Linked DNA regions of Homo sapiens: all the other regions are linked to region 3. Evidence: promoter capture Hi-C in 16 types of primary human blood cells and fetal thymus (Javierre and others, 2016). All regions are on one chromosome and are shown on one strand. The core of a region is centred on a gene start or on the middle of the fragment in contact, and the rest is flanking DNA. Distances in the headings are between cores, read along the strand shown. Region 1 has its middle 21 kb from the start of CKAP4. Region 2 overlaps TXNRD1 (thioredoxin reductase 1). Region 3 holds the start of APPL2 (adaptor protein, phosphotyrosine interacting with PH domain and leucine zipper 2).

Evidence for each region. Contacts are between HindIII fragments. The CHiCAGO score rates a contact against its expected background, and 5 or more counts as called.
Region 1: a fragment that was not itself captured here is called in contact with the fragment with the promoter of APPL2 in region 3 in 1 of 17 cell types (M0 macrophages); the score reaches 5.2 in M0 macrophages.
Region 2: a fragment that was not itself captured here is called in contact with the fragment with the promoter of APPL2 in region 3 in 2 of 17 cell types (neutrophils and non-activated CD4 T cells); the score reaches 7.1 in neutrophils.

The regions. Positions count from the first base shown.
Region 1 is chr12:106,224,516-106,228,703 of GRCh38, forward strand. No RefSeq gene overlaps it. Among named protein-coding and RNA genes, the nearest start is that of CKAP4, 21 kb to the right of the region's middle. The HindIII fragment of the contact is 4,033 bases long and covers 1-3,718 here.
Region 2 is chr12:104,300,032-104,304,500 of GRCh38, forward strand. The region is part of intron 4 of TXNRD1 (thioredoxin reductase 1); the gene reads left to right. EID3 (EP300 interacting inhibitor of differentiation 3) reads left to right here and starts at 3,708. Exons shown (of 1, transcript NM_001008394.3): 1 at 3,708-4,469. The coding sequence starts at 3,904. RefSeq lists enhancers at 967-1,136, 1,675-1,844, 3,636-4,469, 3,816-4,055, 4,086-4,145 and a silencer at 3,546-3,775. The HindIII fragment of the contact is 2,433 bases long and covers 472-2,904 here.
Region 3 is chr12:105,234,403-105,238,591 of GRCh38, forward strand. It overlaps APPL2 (adaptor protein, phosphotyrosine interacting with PH domain and leucine zipper 2), which reads right to left and starts at 1,772. Exons shown (of 21, transcript NM_018171.5): 1 at 1,557-1,772. The coding sequence starts at 1,610. RefSeq lists silencers at 1,351-1,600, 1,651-1,790 and an enhancer at 1,655-2,155. The HindIII fragment of the contact is 6,549 bases long and covers 1-4,189 here.

The DNA.
Region 1 (4,188 bases), core at 452-2,951, 990 kb after region 3:
GCCATCTGCAGAAGAATCTGGGGAGGGACTGCCATGGTGGGCTTTAGTTCTTGGCTAGAAGAGCCTCTGTTCTCGGCAGGAGAAGCCAAATTGCACAAGAAAACCCAAAGATCTTCTTTGATGTACAAAGCCATGAAGTCACAGCCCTTAAAAGAGGTCGACAAAGAGCCCAAAGTTTCCATCAGGTTGACAATGTCCATGTAATTCATCTCACTCACTGCAAGGATCAAAACACCAAATGCTTCCAGGAGCCAGACAGGAGGCCTAAATGAATGGAGAAGCAGACACAAGTGAGTGGTGGGAAATGTGAGAATCTAGAGGCCACAGGCCCACCTGAAGACCTCACAATCAAACACAGGCCCACCTGAAGGCACTCACAATCAAACACAGGCCCACCTGAAGGCACTCACAATCAAACACAGGCCCACCTGAAGGCACTCACAATCAAACACAGGCCCACCTGAAGGCACTCACAATCAAACACAGGCCCACTTGAAGGCACTCACAATCAAACACAGGCCCACCTGAAGGCACTCATAATCAAAATTCCAAACTCAACGGGGCACAGTGGCTCATGCCTGTAATCCCAACACTTCAGCAGGCCGAGGTGCAAGGATTACTTGATCTGAGGAGTTTGATACCAGCCTAGGCAACATAGTGAGACCCCTGTCTCTATGAAAAGATCAAAACACGAGCCAGGTGTAGCGGTGTGCACCTGTGGTTCCAGCTACAAGAGAGGATTAAGCGGGAGGATCGCTTGAGCCCGGAGGGTCAAGGCTGCAAGTGAGCTATGATCATGCCACTGCACTCCAGCCTGGGCAATGGAGTAAGACCCTGTCAAAAAAAAAATTCTAAACTCACATTTTGCAGGCCAACAATAGAAGGGCTCATTTCACAAGCCTGGCATTTCAAATTCCCTGCATTTAGTCAATTTCTAAGTACTATTTATTGAGCACTTCACTGTCATGGCCACTGTTCTAAGCACCTCAGATGGAGTAAGCCTCACAACAACCCTATGAAGTAGGCACTATCATTAGCATCATTTGCATTTATAGGTGGGGAGACTGAGGCACGGAGCACTTAAGTAACTGTCCCGATGTCAGACAGATAGAATATGCCATGGCTGGGAACTCAAATAGTAAGGCTCAAAAACTCAACTTATCCAATTTCTTATCTTTTTTTTTTTTTTTTTTTTTGAGACAGGGTCTCACTTGGGCTAGAGGGCAGTGCTGCCGTCATGGGTCACTGCAGCCTTGACTTCCCAGGCTCAAGCAATCCTCCCACCTCAGCCTCCTGAATAGCTGGGTCTACAGACATGCATCACCACACCCGGCTAATTTTTATATTTTTTGTAGACATGGGGTTTTCCGCCATGTTGCCCAGGCTGGTCTCGAACTCCTGGGCTCAAGCAATCTGCCTGCCTTGTCCTCCCAAAGTGCTGGGATTACAGGCACAAGCCACTGCACCTGGCCAGAACCCAGTGTCTTAACCACCAGTACTATACACACAGTACAAGTACATAGTTGTATCCTGGGACATTATGGGAAGCTGATTTTATTACTATGGGAAAGGGAGTATGGTTTAACAGACAAAAAGCAGGCCTTATTAGAGACAAACAGAGTCCGAGTCCTGCTGCTACCACAGACTGCGTGCTCCCAGAGCAAATTAATGACCATTTCTTAGTGTCTGATCAGTAAATCAGAGACAACCACTTTTACTCCCTGGGATAATCGTCAGGGTAAGCGAGATGATAAATGTGTTCCACCTAAAGCATGACATCAAACACAAAACACAATTATGGGTGACTATTACTTAAGTGAAGGACTAAGCATCCAACATTTGACTTGCCTTATTTAAAGGGCGCCACTTGCACTTTTTTTTTTTTTTGTCCTTTTTGAAACAGAGTCTCACTCTGTTGCCCAGGCCGGAGTGCAGTGCTGTGATCTCAGCTCACAGCAACCTCCGCCTCCCAGGTTCAAGCGATTCTCCTGCCTCAGCCTCCCGAGTAGCTGGGATGACAGGCACGTGCCACCACGCCCAGCTAATTTTTTGTGTTTTTAGTAGAGATGGGGTTTCACCGTGTTAGCCAGGATGGTCTCGATCTCCGGACCTCGTGATCCGCCCACCTTGACCTCCCAAAGTGCTAGGATTACAGGCGTGAGCCACTGCGCACTTCTTAACTAGCTTGACATAGGAACGATAAAGGTCTTTCGGTATCTAAACTTCTACTAACAAAAGATTCATATTAAACAAAACCCTTTATTACCTAAGTTTTCAAAAGGGGCTAATTAGTAGGATAGTATACACATTACAAAAGCATTCATGTCACAGAGAAATACACACATAGGTCTTTTAAATAGTGGATTTCTCTGGTATTTTTAATGGTACAATTGGATTTTATCCCCTTTCTGGAACAAGAGCGAAAAATGAAGAAATCATTCCTGTGATCCCTGACTCTGACACTAGATGGCAATAAATTCTCACTTCAATTATGTTCTCTGGGTTCCTACTGCCACAGTCAGCTGATTTGGGGCTATTCCCCAGCTGAAAGTTCAGGGGCTTGAGCCGCTCTGGATTTTTTACTGGTGCATCCCGGCATCTTCTGAAAGTGAATAGTCTTCACATGAGGTTATCCAAGATGTCAGCCCGGCCCGGCCAACATTCCCCATTTCACCCCAATAAATGAGAAAACATTAATTGTGACCCAGTGTGTGCCGGCCCCCATGGGAGCTACAAACAGACCCTTGGTTAAGACAGAAGCCACCCTGGCCCCTAGAGATCTGCTCACTGTCTAGTCCTTTTTCCCTTAGGCCTCCTCCTGCCCACCCGAGGCTCCAAAAGACTCTTGTGCAATGGTTAAAGTCAAGGAAAGTTGGATCTGGAAGAGAACATGAAGATTACTTTATCTCCCCTCACTTTTCAGATGGGAAAACAGATGGAGGCCCAGAGAAGGAAAGTGAATTATCCTAGGCAGCACAGCCCGGCAGGCCAGCATTCGGACCAGAGTCCTGATTCCAGGTGACTTCCCCCATCCCTGCTGTTCTTGTCACACCATGTGAGAACTCCGTCCTGGAGTGCAAACCAAGATCATACCCGTGAATGGAAGAAAACAAAAAGACCTAGCCTTCTGAGTTTCCATGAAGGACTCTGTGGGACAGGATGTGTCCTCACACCAGCAGCCACACCCAGTTGGTAATGCCTCTTTCAACACAACATCACCAGCTATTTGAACACAGGCCGGGATTTCCCCACAGCCCCATTACCCAACAGGTATTGCTCCTGAGTGTTCGCTGCCACACGCGGGGGCTTGCACAGCAAGGCCAGGCTGCCACACCCCTTCCTGCCAAGAGTGGGTTTTGCTGCCTGCAGCAACTCAACTGCCCTGATTCTTCGCTTACTTCTGAGCATTTTGCATCTGTGCTTAGGCCTGGAGCCAAAACAAATTGTGGGGGATAAGAGAAGAAATTAGGCCCTGTCTTCTTAGCCAGTTAGTGTATGAGCTTGGGTGAACAACTTCTCTGAGACTCAGCCTCCCCATCTGTAAAACAACAGAATTAGATTAGAGCCTTCTCTCAGCCTTAGCTTTCTAAGGCCTGTCACATGGCTACTTAGCTATCATTACTATGAAAAGTAATCATGCGTAAATGCAGCACTTCACGTAATATATGTAGGCGTCATTTGTTTTCTGACCTGTACTAGTTTAACTATTAAAAGTATAAGCTTTTCTCTATGTGTTTCTTCCCCTTTAAAAAAAAAAAGTTTAATTACAAAATATTTCTGACCTATGAAAAGATATCAGGAATATGGGGAGGCCAGGCATGGTGGCTGACACCTGTAATCCCAGCACTTTGGGAGGCCAAGGCAGGTGATCACTTAAGTCCAGGAATTCAAGAACAGAGTGAGCAACAAGGCAAGAACTTGTCTCTACAAAAACACAAAAATTAGCCGGGTGTGGTGGTGCACGCCTGTTAGTCCCGGCTACTACTTGGGAGGCTGCGGTGGGAGAATCACTTGAGCTGGGGAGGTAGAGGCTACAGTGAGCCAAGATCGGCCACCGCACTGCAGCCTGGACGTATATATATCACATATATATATACCATCTCCCCATATTTTTTTATTTTTCTGAACAGAGCAAGACACTGTTCAAAAAAATTGTAAAAATGGGGAGATGGATATATATGTGATACA
Region 2 (4,469 bases), core at 438-2,937, 930 kb before region 3:
ATCCATTTGTTATAGGTAAGTGTTAACAGCAAAACCTCACTGGAGAAAAATAGTGGACTCGTGACTTCTTCCTTTATTTGGTTACAGGGAGACATGTGACCTTTGTCATCCACCCTATCACGTTTGTGTTGAGCAGTATGGGTTGTGGGAAAGAGCTCAAGAATGCTTGGAATTAACCTAAACTCCTAGAAAAGGAACTGAAAATATAGGAGAAAAGGGTGAAGAAAAGAGGAAAGGAAATGGAGGTCTGTATTGAACCCTGGGTAGCAACTCTTGAGCGAAGAAAGAGGAAAAAGGGGAAAGAGGGGAGCTAAATTATCTCTGAGGCAACTCAGTCTCATGGTTGCCTGAACTAGTCTATACTGCGGGAATAAGGTAGACGCCACTGGTTTCTTTGAAGTACCAGTGCGCTTCTTGCTTTCTATTCCTGGTCACAGACAAATTTATCAGTAGTGCAGTTTCTTCTTTTTAAGCTTCATTTAAATAATTATTAGTAGCACTTGGACCTTAGGTTAGGAAATCACTGTTTAATGACTTAAAGATTAACCGGCATGGAAATCCCATTCTTTATATGATTGGGGAGAGTTATTGAACTTGAGATTGTTTTACTTTGTAGCAATGTCTAAAGGCAGATTTGTTTTGTTTTGTTTTGTTTTTGAGGCGGGGTTTCGCTCTTGTTGCCCAGGCTGGAGTGCAATGGTGCAATCTTGTCTCACCCGCAACCTCTGCCTCCCAGGTTGAAGTAGCAGGGATTACAGGCATGTGCCACCACGCCCAGCTAATTTTCTATTTTTAGTAGAGACGTGGTTTCTCCATATTGATCAGGCTGGTCTCAAACTCCTGACCTCAGGTGAGCCACCCACCTCGGCCTCCCAAAGTGCTGGGATTACAGGTGTCAGCCACCGCACCTGGCCTAAAGGCAGATTTTTAAAGGTGGAACATAATGCAAGTCTGCCTTTCTTAGGATGATCTAAGTTACATGTTAATAAAGTTCTTGGAGATCTAGCATAGAATGCATTCAGCACTGTAAATCACAACTTAATGTTTGCCTCGATATGCTCTGTTGCTCTGAGCAAGTTGTGTGGGCTGTTATCTCCTGAGAAATCCCTGTAAATGGTATTAGTAATACTTTATAAGCAGGTTGGGAGAATATAGTTTTCTAAGGCATTTTGAAATTCTTAGATGAAAGGGTCTTTATGTAGCAAATTGGTGTCAGCCTATTTTCCTTCCTCTGAGCCAGAAGAAAATAGGCACCATAGGGTGGGAAGGGTTGGCTTATCTGTTAGAGTTCTTTTGTAAGTAGCTTTTGTTGAATTTTTTTTTTGAGATGGAGTCTCGCTCTGTCGCCCAGGCTGGAGTGCAGTGGCGCGATCTTGGCTCACTGCAAGCTCCGTCTCCTGGGTTCAGGCTAGTCTCCTGCCTCAGCCTCCAGAGTAGCTGGGACTACAGGCGCCTGCAACCACGCCCGGCTAATTTTTTGTATTTTTAGTAGAGACGGGGTTTCACCGTGTTAGCCAGGACGGTCTTGATCTCCTGACCTCGTGATCCGCCCGCCTCAGCCTCCCAAAGTGCTGGGATTACAGGCGTGAGCCACCGTGCCCGGCTGCTTTTGTTGAATTTAAAGTGGATGTGAGAAGCTCCTAAGAATATCGTTCACTGTAAAAGCAGACTTTTTTGGATTTGGGTCTTGGAATTCTTAACTGTATTTTCACCTAAGATTTAAAACAAGTTCAAATACTAGTTTGTAATTGGCCAGACTAGGGACAGATACGATCCTTGAATGATCCTGGGTCTCAACTTACCTTTCTTTCATTTTTCCTTTATTTTAGAAGAGGGATAAGAACTTTTTCTGAAGAGCAGTCAACTTTTCCTTTCAGTGTGTAGGATTAATTCCACGAATCTGTGAACTTAAATCTTTGCTGCCAAATAACTTGCAGTAGATGCTGGGATAGTTTTAAATCTATTTTAAGTTATACATTCAGTACATAAGTGCATCTCCGTGTAAAAACAGCTATGTTTGGAAGATCTAAAACGCAGCTTTTGTTTTTGAGAAGCCAACAATCTAATAGGGTAGGATCATATATATGTACAACTAACCGTAATGCATGGTGTTTTGAAAAATGCACGTATCTCCCTGAATTACCCCTAGTTAATAAAATAATTGGGAGCAAATGGTAATATAAGGATTTTGGAGTAACTTAATACTACTAGATTTTGCTGTTTATACATTTACAAAAAACTTTCTGCTAATGCTAAAGAAATAGAACAAGTCTATATGCATAAAGGAAGGTAGGGCTAATTTACTTCCTGGTGCTATGAAACTGGCAATTGGACAGGTGCAATTGTGGGTGTCTTTTTTTTTTTAAGGTGTACCTGTTGCAGGTTTGAAAAGCTGTTGATGCTCATGGGTTGTTTGTGTGCATGTTCTCTTTAAAAACCAGATGTATTCATTCCCTTTTTTTTTTTTTTTTTTTTTGAGACGGAGTCTCGCTCTATAGCCCAGGCTGGAGTGCAGTGGCCCGATCTCGGCTCACTGCAAACTCCGCCTCCTGGGTTCACGCCATTCTTCTGCCTCAGCCTACCGAGTAGCTGGGACTATAGGCGCCTGCCACCGCGCCCGGCTAATTTTTTGTAGTTTTAGTAGAGACGGGGTTTCACCGGGTTAGCCAAGATGGTCTCGATCTCCTGACCTCGTGATCCGCCCGCCTCGGCCTCCCAAAGTGCTGGGATTGCAGGCGTGAGCCACCGCGCCCGGCCATTCCCATTGTTATGTATACTTTGCTATTTGCTGCTGGTGAGACAGATAAGGAGTCACGTCTTTAACTGCACTTGAGTTTCCAGTGACCCCATTAAATCCAATGGGTAAATTTTCCCACGCAGATTACTCACCCAGTTTACAGATTAAGCTTTCATATCCTTAGACTGTATCTGAAATTTTCATAGCTTTGCCCACCTTTTAGGGTTCAGAGTTACTACCCATTCAGTGTCGGTGGCCTTTAGCTGTTGGCAAGCTTCCAAGTAAATAGCTCTTTTGCAGAGATCTCTACCCATTCTATTCTTCCACTCCTGGGTAGTGGAGAACCAAAGTTCACCTGAGTAATGCCCGTGCCCAGCACCCAGTTTCCTGCAGGGGTTAGCACGGATATTGGAGGCTCCCCCGATCCCACAGATACTCAGGATGGGTATTGGAGGGGGCTTGGTTTTTAAGAGGACATGTGAAAGTAATTAACCCGATTTACATTTGTATAATGAGTCCAAACACCACCTTGCAAAAGAACTGAGAGTTTAGCCTGCTTAATGGAGTTTCTGCTTTTCACGGTCCTTGGCCTTACCGACGGTTTACAGTCCAGCCAGATTTAGTTCACAAAAAACCAAAACCAGGTCGACCTCACTGCAGTATATGATGGCAGCGAGCGTTTTAAAGCGCAGGACCTTTAGTCTCCTCAATAGTTTTGTGTAAAGTTGTCCAAAAGTGTTTTTTTTTAAAGTGAGGTGATCCAGTCGGTAAACGCTTTGAAAAAGAATAGCTGTCCCCTGAGCGGGCATTAGTCGCGTGTGAGGTCAGGGCCCATCATTGCGCGTGTTGGGAGCGCCGCGCTGGTCTATGAGCGAGCGCCTCGGCTTGTGGCTGGGCCGGGCCGGGGCGGGGCTGTCTTCCCGCGGAGCGTGCTGGGGGCGGGTCGCGCCGGGCCGGGCCGCTAGTGCGCATGGGCGGGCGTCCTCGGCTCTAACTGCCGCCACTTTCCACACGCTGGGAGGGCCGTTACCTCAGAGATACCCGTGGCCGGCATGTTGGTTGAAAAAGCTTCCCGGAAGGGAGACGAAGAGAAAGGAGAGGAGCAGCTCGTGATCATCCCCGGTAGCGAGTACGCGGCGAAGTAGGCGGCGGCGGAGGGAGCGCTGATGAAGATGGATGTGTCAGTGAGGGCCGCGGGCTGCTCCGACGACCTCAGCTCTGGGGAGGCCGACGTAGACCCAAAGCTCCTGGAGCTCACCGCTGACGAGGAGAAGTGCCGCAGCATCCGCAGGCAGTACCGGCAGCTCATGTACTGCGTGCGGCAGAACCGGGAGGACATCGTGAGCTCGGCGAACAACTCCTTAACCGAGGCTCTGGAGGAAGCCAACGTCCTCTTTGATGGCGTGAGCCGAACCAGAGAAGCAGCCCTCGACGCCCGGTTTCTTGTTATGGCTTCTGATTTGGGTAAAGAAAAGGCAAAGCAGTTAAACTCAGATATGAACTTCTTTAATCAGTTAGCATTTTGTGACTTTCTGTTTCTGTTCGTGGGTCTGAATTGGATGGAAGGCGATCCTGACAAGTTGAGTGATTGTGATGATAGCATAGCTCTTTCCTTCTGGAAGGCAATAGAAAAGGAAGCAACATCCTGGATGGTAAAAGCTGAGACATTCCATTTTGTTTTTGGTTCATTCAAGCTAGAACGTTCTGCACCAAAGCCCCGACTTGAACACCA
Region 3 (4,189 bases), core at 522-3,021:
ACCCAGGTCTCCTGACTTGCTCTACAGTCCTGTCTACTTCCTCACAGCTGGGCAAATCCTTTAAGCCACTCACAAACAGTGTATATTCCTTTATGTTAGAGCTGGAAATTAAGAATATGATCTGTTTGTGAGGACAACATCAAGAATCAGTTAGTATAATCACTGTAACCTGGCTTAGGCATCACCATGTAGGTTAGAAAAGCAGGATATTTCTGTGCACCTCAGTTTCCATAAGTGCAAGGCAAACAGAGATCCTTGTTCAAAGTGATCATTTAAAATCTCACATTGCTATCTTCAGATTCCACACAACAGATATGAACATGGACAAAATGCCTTCTACCAAGGGCTTTAGTCTGATTAAAATGCCAGGAGTCTACAGCCATATAAAAAAGGGAGGCCTTGAAAAAGTCGTCCAGAGGATGCAAACTTACCAAAAAACAAAACAAACAAACAAAAAACACACACACAGCTTGCTTCCAGTTCCTTACTTATCTACACTAGGAGGATCACAAAAAATGAACAAAAGACACCTATGCATACAGCCCTTCGGACTTATTCTGAACTGTCGATGTAGGTAAATCCATACAAGGATCATCCTGGGAAGTATTATTCACTTAGAAGAAAAAGGGAAGGAACCCCAAAAGAGAGGGGAAAGTGTGAAACGAAAATAGGTTAATCTTATTCTAAGTTTTCAAGAGTTGAGACACTAGGAAATAAAGGCACTTATTTAAATAAACCCGGGATGCTGAACCAGGAGTGTAGGTACGAAGCTGGAGAAATGTTAAACAAAGGAGAACAAAAGACCCCTGGGGAAAGATGTGCTGAATTATGAACTAATGTCATCCTGCACTCATTTGCTATATTTACACACCAGTTTTCATCTGCAGAGCTCAAAGGACTTGACTCTCATCTCGAGTGTGCTAATGAAGTTCCCTTGTGCGACAAATGGGGCAGGTACTGTATTTTTCTCTTCACTAATGGGAAAACGGTGCCAAAAGGAGGCCTGGTACCGCCGGAAAAGAGATCCAGGCCCTCTGCCTCTCATTCTGGCTGGCACAAGTCTCATCACATCATTAGGAGTAGCAGTAATAAGACTGACTCATTATCTGTACCGGACATTGTCTGCTGACAACTTTACAGGTATTTCTCATTGACTTCTCCTAACAACCCTATGAAGCAGGCACAATTATTATTCCTATTTTACAGACGACAAAACTAAGGCACAATAAGGTGGTTTTCCTGAGGCACTCAGCTACTACATGGAATCAAAGTTTAGATCTCGCAGACTCAGTTGCAGCTGAGCTTGCAGGGGGGTCACGACATCAAGACTCCGGCCGCGGGGCTCTCTCCCCTGTTCCACAGCTCTGCCCCGGCTCAGGACTCAGGGCCCGGCCCGCCCCCTCCTCAGCCCGAGAGAACCCGGTGGGAGGCGCCGCGAGGGGGCCGGGCGCACTCCCGCGGCTGCCCGGCCGGGGGCGCGGCCTCCACTCCGGGGCTGGAGGGGCCTCCTCGGCCTCACCCCTGCGGGCGAGGGGCACCGGAGCGGCGGGAGGTACCTGGGGGCTGTCCTGCAACGCCTCCTCTAGCAGGAGCTTGTCCACGGCGGGCATGGTGCGGCGCGGCTCAGCCGAGGGCTGGGTTGGAAGGACAGAGGGCAGGAGACGCGGCGGCCGAGAGCACTCCCCGGCTCTGGGCTCAGGCGACGCGGCGGCCACTCCGTGCCCGCGGCGGCCCCGCGCGCGTCCACGCCTGGCCAGTGGCCGCCGCCGCCTGCCCGCCGGCCCAGCCCCCGGCCGAGCCGGATCAACAGGAAGTGTGGCGCGCCCGGCAGGGAAACCGGAAGTGTGGTGAGCTCCGGTCCCGACACCGGAAATGTGGCGCCCGCGCTTCCGCCTGCGCTCGCCGGCTCGCGGGGAGCGGGGGGCTCTGGGTGCCAGTCCCGTTGCTGAGGGAACCCTTCGGGTGTTTGTTCTCTGTGCTGAAGGTCCGTCAAGTCAATGCATATGAAGTCCAAAAGAGGAACTCGAGGGTAGAAAGATAAGGTTTTATCTGCTTATGGCTACCCAGAAAGCCTTTTGAGTTGAAGGAGCGAACAGATTTTTTCTTTTAATGGAAGGAAAAACCCACACTTCCCACACCACTTTTTCTAGATAAATTTCGACGCCCCTGAAACAGCTCTGAGAGCAAAGAGGTCGCCTATGCTATGGGAACAAAGAAAAGAGGAGAAAAGCTGGATAACTGACTCGTCTGTGATAATCAGAAATAACCACTTTGGAAACCACAGCTATTTGATGTGGTCATAATTAGGTCTCGTCCTCCTGGTTTATGTTTTGTGATTTTGGAGAATTTCATAATCAAATGTTTAGAATTGGAAGGGCTAGATAATCTAGGTTCCAGTGTTGTCATTTAGAGATGAGAAAATGGGACCCAGAGAAATAAGTGGTCTGCCCAGGGTCAGTTAGTAAACGCCAGAGGAAGAAAAGAAGGAAGGGAGAGGGATGGAAGAAGACTGGCAAGTGGAACGTGACACCTTTTTACACGGAAGGCAAGGGTTTCTGAAGTTCCTTCTTTAGAAGTTAATAAGACTGGCCGGGCGTGGTGGTTCACGCCTGTAATCCCAGCACTTTGGGAGGCCGAGATGGGTGGATCACGAGGTCAGGAGTTCAAGACCAGTCTGGCCAAGATGCTGAAACCCCGTCTCTACTAAAAATACAAAAATTAGCCGGGCGTGGTGGCATGCGCCTGTAATCCCAGCTACTCGGGAGGCTGAGGCAGAAGAATCACTTGAACCCGGGAGGCAGAGGTTTCAGTGAGCCGAGAGGGCACCACTGCACTCCAGCCTGGGCAACAGAGCAAGACTCCGTCTCAAAAAAAAAAAAAAAAATCATGCAGTATGTGTGTCACCAAAATCAACAGAGGGGATATGGTAATATATAAATTCTGCATTCTGCAGAGACCTCTTAGGTATATCAAGACCCAATCTGCATTGCTGACACCTCTGACAGTCTAGTATAGTAGCATGCTGCCTGATCACTTGAAAACTCCAAGGCCATTATTCCCTTGGTCTGGCCAGCGCCAACCTGACCTGAACCATTTTATGGCCTCCATCTACCATATTTTCCTCCACAGTATTCTTTCTTCCCTATTCTTTCTTGCCTCCACCATACTCTTGTCTTCCCTATAGGTGGAATCATGCTCACACCATATTTCTTCCCTTTCCTCTATTTTATACCGCCTGCCATTCAGTTCATTTTACCTCATCCAGTGTCCCAGACTCTCTTCTCACTGAAATCTAATTCCTCACGGCCAGACTCATGCTCTTCCTTCATCCTGATTGCGAGAACAGTACAAGGATAGTATTATACCCAGGGAAATAAATGTGCACATTTTAATTTGAAAATATGCATTACAAGAAGTTAGTGCCCTCAGAACCCTTGAAAGGGCTCAGACAGCCCCTTGGGAATCACAGCATTTTTCATGTACCACCTCATCTTCTAATTAAAGTTACTTTTCTTCAAATACTAGTATTCAACATTCAAAAATTGTTTAAGCTATCCCATTACTTTTCTGCATTTTCTTGCTACATTATGGGCTAAACAGCCTTAGTGGGATTTCTTGGAACTTAAGAACTGTTTACAACATTGTTTCTATGGGAAAATCTATCCCAAATTCAAAACAACTAAGTTACAAAAGTAGATCTGGAAATACAACACATGCATAAATGGTTTTAATTTATCTCATTTGTTAATTCATCCAATCATTCATTCATGTATTAAATATAGACTGCTCAGTGTTAAGCACTGTCTCCCACTTGTTTGATTCTCATTTAAATTCTGAAGGCAAATATCCTCTCCTTTGATAATCTGTGAGAAACTACATAAGAGGAATTTTTATGTCAACATGAACATTTAAAAATGTTTCATTAAAGAGTATATATCTGTTCCTATTAAACTATTATGCAGGTGGATTTTAGAAATCCACCCCACTGTCTCTGAAATCCCTGGTCAGCTGTGAAGTTGGTGACAGGAAGTATAAAGATGGACAGTCTGGAGTTGTCGTGATGTCTGAAGAGAGAGAGGATGAATTATATGGAGGTGTAACCTGTGACCCATTGAAGGCCAGTGGGGAAAAGGACACAGTGAGACACAAAAAAAGGACCCAGGATGGCCAGGTCAGAGAAGGCCTGGGG